Linked DNA regions of Homo sapiens: region 1 is linked to region 2. Evidence: promoter capture Hi-C in human tissues and cell types (Jung and others, 2019). All regions are on one chromosome and are shown on one strand. Each heading gives the region's core, a stretch centred on a gene start or on the middle of the fragment in contact. The rest is flanking DNA. Distances are from core to core; before and after follow the strand shown.

Region 1 (3,117 bases), core at 168-2,667, 460 kb before region 2:
ATAATAAGGTTGGGCTCCCTTATAGATTTCTCCAGAGATTCTACTTTCTTTGAACGAAAGGTGAGTCCTTAAGATTTTCTGAGTTGTCTGTTTGGAAACAAGTACCAAAATAATCAGATTTAAAAAAAAAAATCAAGCTCCTAATTTTTTTTGAAAAAAAAATGTAATTTGATTTTACTTTTATAAACTTTAAGAAGGCATTTCCACACTTTACAACACTCTCGTCATGTTTCAGGGTTTTTATTTCTTTCTTCGGCAGCATTTTCGGCCACGCGTCGAGCACTTGCCGATCTGTTCCTCCTTTGGAAGGCAGCTGAGCACAGCACACCGGCCGCCTCTGACTCTGCAATAATATTTCTGTAATGTGTTTATGATTCCTCCATGACCTGCAATGACAAAACAGCACACACGGAAAGGTTTTAGGAAGGCTTTTGGTACACGTACAAGGCTTGTGGAATTCCTCAAATAACTCATCCCTTGCTTTTCTTGTATTCTTTTGTTTCTTTTTCCTTTTTCTATAAAATCAGGAGGAAGATGAAGGTATGACTACACAACCCATAGACAATGTTTCTAAGGCTGCAGCTCAGCTGTGGACCCACAGTGGCACCGGGGAAGTGGCGTGACCCTGTGACTGCCGCAGGAACAGTGGGGGTGCTGAGGCTGTGGTGTCCTCAGAGGTAGCCCCAACACTCCACCTCCAACCATTGCACTTAGTAGAACAGGAGCCTGTGCTTCTATTCTCAGAGTAAATCAATCTTTCCTGCTACATTAAACTTTTATGTCTGATTCATGTCTCATCAGCTGGTATAATAATCTTCCCTTGAAGAGTTGGGGAAAGAGATAGCTTTGGGGAGCTATTTAGTTTCTTAATGATTCTTTTCTTTTTTTTTTTTTTTGAGGTGTACTCTCACCCTGTCACCCAGTCTGGAGGACAGTGGCGTGATCTCGGCTTACTGCAACCTCCGCCTGCCAGGTTTAAGCAATTCTCTGCCTCAGCCTCCCGAGTAGCTGGGATTACAGGTGCCCGCCACTGTGCCCAGATAATTTTTGTATTTTTAGTAGAGATGGGGTTTCACCATCTTGGCCAGGCTGGTCTTGAACTCCTGACCTCGTGATCCGCCCACCTCGGCCTCCCAAAGTGTTGAGATTACAGGCATGAGCCACCGCACCTGGCCTCTTAATGATTCTTGTCTGAAAAAAAAGTGGTGATGCCTAGTTCCCATACAACAAACCTGCTTGGTCCAAAGCACTCTGAAGGATGGAGAAATACTGACTCTGAATTATATATTCTCAATTAGATCAATCCTTAGATTTCCCAGCCCATCTTACCTGGAACAGGCACCAAAAACAGGAAGAGCAAAGCAAACAGAAGATAATGGATCCTCATAGCTGCTAGGCTTCACCCCACGCTGAGACTGGATGAAAAGGTGTGCTTGGTCACTTTATAAAGGTTCCAGCCACAGCTGCAATTCTTGTCATATTACAGTGATGACATTATGACATGTTTTCTGATGCATCATTCCAATGCCTCTCACCATGCAGAACACACCCACTCACTCAGTTAATTAGGAACCCAATGGTAAGGCAGAGCTCCCTATGGATTTGTGGCTGTCCGGGTGCTCTCTGGACTCCAGGGGCTTGTCTGGGTGTGGGTCAGATTGGGTTGTGGGTACAGATAGGGCTGGCATGAGCAAGTATGCCCCCTTTGGGGAATAGTCTCAGGGCATGTGGCTGGGGGCTGACTTGTCCGTACTTTGCTGCTTTGGAGCTTTTTTTCTCTTCCTAAAATGCTGGGAGAGTCTAAGACCCTCCTGGGGACCAAATAAATCCAGCCCTGGACATATTCAATATCTGGCAATAGGACTGGCTTTTTGGTAGTGAGGTAAGGGAGGAAAATGGGCTACATTCAAGGTTAGCTGACCACCTGGCCCTTGGCCTATGATGGGGTGCTATAATTTGAGTGAAACATGTCTCATTCTTTCATTTTTTTTTTTTTTTTTTGAGAGACAGAGTCTCACTTTTTTGTGCAGGCTGGAGTGCAGTGGCATGATTACAGCTCACAACAGCTTGAGCTGTCAGGCTCAAGAGGTCCTCCCACTTCAGCCCCCTGAGTAGCTGGGACCACAAACGCATGCCTCCACACATGGCTAAATTTTAAATTTTCTGTAGAAAATAAAATGGGGTCTCACTATGCTGCCCAGACTGGTTTCGAGCCCAGATGTGAACTCCTGGGCTCAAGCAATCCTCCTGCTTCAGCCTCCTAAATTGCTGGGATTACTGGTATGAGCCACTGTGTGCGGCCCATGTCCGATTCTTCATCATTGTCTAAAACCTACCAAATTTATGAGTAAAGAAGGTGTTTAATTTTACTTCATCAGAGAAAGAGGATGCTGGGATGATAGATTTAATAGACTGGCATCTCCTCCTAGTCAATGACTGTCCCTGTGCAAAAGAGGGGCTTCAGAATAGACATTTAAGACCTCAAGTTACTCTTGGCTCAGGAGCATTCAAGGCAGTCCAGGGGCCAGATGATTTCCCCTGCATATAGATTCAACGTTTAGAGGGAAAAATGCTAAAAAAGAAAAAAAAAACAGCTATTAAACTTAAATGTTCAGGAATCCAATGGATGGGTTGTATTTGGTTGACTATCAATTGGGAACTAAGTAAGTCAATGACAATTCAATTGGGAGCTGAAGTCACCGTGATGTCTCCTAGCTGCTGCTTCGTGTGAATGCAATTATAACGGATCCACTAAGGATCAAGGGTGTGTTAGTTCTGGGAGTGTGTGTTCAGAATTTGGGTGCACCACACCTGTCAGATTCAGTAAGAAAACTCTGAACACATACTATAGGAAGGGACAAGTATCATGTCTTCAGCATAGGTGAGGGTGAAGTGGATGAGATACCAAGAGGGACCAGTCTTGGTTCTTTCTCTCCAGAAGCTCCATGTAGGGCCAGGTAGATGGGCAGACAGTCAAATGATAAATTTAGGATGAATTCTAATGGGAGTCATAGGAAGATTTCAAGCACAGGGCTGCAGAAACGTAGAAGAAAGATAACTCATCATAACTCAAAGATAACTCTTTGAGCCAAGAGTGGAGCTCAATCAGCAGATTTA
Region 2 (3,094 bases), core at 116-2,615:
AGGCTCAGAAATTTCCTTTTATAAAAATGTCATTAAGGATCTTGGCTGCACAATATCATTACCAGCTTCCTTTAAATCCACCTCTGGCCTGCCAGGAATCAGGGTTCTTCAGAACCTGACATTTTAAATGAAGAGGTCAGGCAGGTCATGAGGAAAGCCTCATTGTCCCCATGTCTCTGTCACTGCTGCACCCCTGAGACATCACAGACATGGACACTGGGGCCTGCTTGTTTCTCAAACTGCCCTTAGATCGAAAGAGGGAGGAACCAGGATGAATGCCACTCATTTTCCCAAGAAAGGCCCTCTCCTGAGTGCCCGGGATGGGGCTCTGTCCATTGCCTGGGGCCGCCAATTGCTACTCTGGGTTACGGAGGAAGGACAGGGTCCTGAGAGACACCAGAGACCTCACACAGCCCTGAAAACATGGGGCTCCTTCATAAGTGTTTCCCATCACCAACAGGGAGACCACGTGGAGGCCTTGCAGCCCCACTCGGTGCTTCTCCACCAAATCCCAAGGGCAGTGACGCTGACGTCTGTGGAAAGCAGAGAAAGCCCTGGCTCCCAAAGCCCTGAAGTCCTGTGGAGCTGACATTCCCTGAGTGACGGTGTGAATGGAAGGAACTCAAGTGCGGGTGGTAGGCCACCTCCTGGCCCAGGCCTGGGTGAACTCTGAGGGGACACATGTAGTCACAATCCCATCCTCCCATTCTCCTTCTCAGAGGAAGGAAGTGGGCATCCATCTGCCTCATCTCTCTCCCGTGGGGAAGATGGGGAGTTTCAGGGGAACTTTCACATAAATTTCACCAGCTCAGATCTCCTGTGAGGATGGGGCCCACCATGCTCCCGGTGCTGCCAGAGGCCCTGAGCCCCTCCCAGGGTCCCTGGGTTTGAGCCAGCCCTGTATCATCCCCAGGAGCTGAATGTCCGAGCAATGGATAGAATTAGATGGAAAGAGCTCTCAATTTGGCCTGAGACTGTCCCCAGATACTCAGGAAAAACAGGACGTCGCACAGAGTGGGCAGCAGGTGAGTGGCAGGTTATAGGTCCTGAGTTTGAGTTTGTTCTCACGTGAGACAGACCCAGCCCCTCACTCCATTCACACACTGGGTTTTAAATGGTGCAAGATAGGAGGAATTTTCTGGTCCCAAGAGCAGGAGGAAGGGATTTTCTGGGGTTTCCTGAGTCCAGATTTGCATAAGATCTCCTGAGTGTGCATTGTTCTTTGAGGACCATTCTCTGACTCACCAGGTAAGTGGCTGAATTCTAACCTCTGTAATGAGCATTGCACCCAATACCAGTTCTGAACTCTACCTGGTGACCAGGGACCAGGACCTTTATAAGGTGGAAGGCTTGATGTCCTCCCCAGACTCAGCTCCTGGTGAAGCTCCCAGCCATCAGCCATGAGGGTCTTGTATCTCCTCTTCTCGTTCCTCTTCATATTTCTGATGCCTCTTCCAGGTGAGATGGGCCAGGGAAATAGGAGGGTTGGCCAAATGGAAGAATGGCGTAGAAGTTCTCTGTCTCCTCTCATTCCCCTCCACCTATCTCTCCCTCATCCCTCTCTCTCCTTCCTCTCTCTGTGTGTCCCCTCCATCCTTTTCTCCTGCTTCTCTCTCTTCTTCCCTCTCTCTCTTTTTTTCTGTCTTTCTTTTTCCTCTCTCCCTAGAGCATGTCTTTCTTTCTTTCTCTTTCCTTTCTTCTACCCACACTTTTAGACTGAATGCCCTATTTAATTGAACCAAGCATTGCTTCCTTCAATAGAAAAGGAGTTTGAGAACCCAATGGACACCTCACTCGTTCTTCTAAGCCAATATGAAGGAGCCCAGTAGCTTGTAAATATCATCTCTTCACTGCTTTCCATGCTACAACTGCTGAGACTATGGTTGAAACCTGTTAGGTGACTTTTTAAATAAAAGGCAGAAATTTTGATTTTATCTAAAGAAAGTAGTATAGAATGTCATTTTCTAAATTTTTATATTTAAAGGGTAGATACTGCAACCTAGAGAATTCCAGATAATCTTAAGGCCCAGCCTATACTGTGAGAACTACTGCAGCAGACACTCTGCCCCCAGGACTTTTCTGATCAGAGGCCCTGAGAACAGTCCCTGCCACTAGGCCACTGCAGGTTCACAGGACAGGGACAGCCCATTGAAACCAACTTTTAAACCTGGATGCCTAACCTTCATTTTCTCCTTGATATTATGAAAATAAAATAAAAACCATGAAAGGATAAAAGAGGGAGAGTGGAAGGGAAGGATGGAGAAAGGGAAAAAGAAAATTTGAGAGTAAATCCTAAAACAATTAATCTAATAGATATCATCTTGTGAAATCCTCATTTTACCAATCTTATTTATGAGTCCTGGGTTTTGTGAGAACAATGGGGTTCTGAGAGGCACCAGAGACCTCATGTTTTCCAAAACCTAGAACAGTATAATGAAGGAAGGCGGGGAGGCAGGGAGGCAGGGAGGCAGGGAGGCGGGCAGGTGGGGAGGGAGGGAGGGAAGGAGGGAGGGAGGGAGGGAGGGAGGGAGGGAGGGATAAAAAAAGAAGAATGAGGTTGAAACCAGGACTTAGATATTAGAAACAAGCCATTACAAAATTTATTTCTATGGTTAATTGTGGTTTTCAACTGTAAGTTACTTGGTGTTAATTTCCTATTAAACAATTTCAGTAAGTTGCATCTTTTTATCCCATCTCAGATCAAATACTTAACAGACTAAATGATTTGAAAAAGCAAAAGTTTACTGGCTTGTGTGTGTTAAAATGGAGGTATGGTGGCTTTGATATTATCTTCTTGTGGTGGAGCTGAATTCACAAGAGATCGTTGCTGAGCTCCTACCAGACCCCACCTGGAGGCCCCAGTCACTCAGGAGAGATCAGGGTCTTTCACAATCAGGTTCTACAAAAATAAACATCCCCCAAACCACAGCAGTGCCAGTTTCCATGTCAGAAACTTAGATCCAAATGACTGACTCGCGTCTCATTATCATGATGGAAAAGCCCAGGCTTGAGAAAGAAGCCCGCTGCGGATTTACTCAAGGCGATACTGACACAGGGTTTGTGTTTTTCCAACATGAGTTTTGAGTTCTTACAC

Evidence for each region. The method cuts DNA at HindIII sites, captures the fragments that hold promoters and counts their contacts. A contact is called where the count stands out against the background at its distance.
Region 1: a contact is called between the fragment with the promoter of DEFB103A here and the fragment with the promoter of DEFB4B in region 2, in 6 of the 25 tissues and cell types used here (H1 embryonic stem cells, dorsolateral prefrontal cortex, hippocampus and 3 more).

The regions. Positions count from the first base shown.
Region 1 is chr8:7,879,692-7,882,808 of GRCh38, reverse strand. DEFB103A (defensin beta 103A) reads right to left here and starts at 1,417. Exons shown (of 2, transcript NM_001081551.4): 1 at 1,330-1,417; 2 at 146-386. The coding sequence starts at 1,387. The coding sequence ends at 241. It also overlaps the pseudogene LOC124901865. The HindIII fragment of the contact is 16,891 bases long and covers 1-3,117 here.
Region 2 is chr8:7,415,134-7,418,227 of GRCh38, reverse strand. It overlaps DEFB4B (defensin beta 4B), which reads left to right and starts at 1,365. Exons shown (of 2, transcript NM_001205266.2): 1 at 1,365-1,458. The coding sequence starts at 1,401. The HindIII fragment of the contact is 11,162 bases long and covers 1-3,094 here.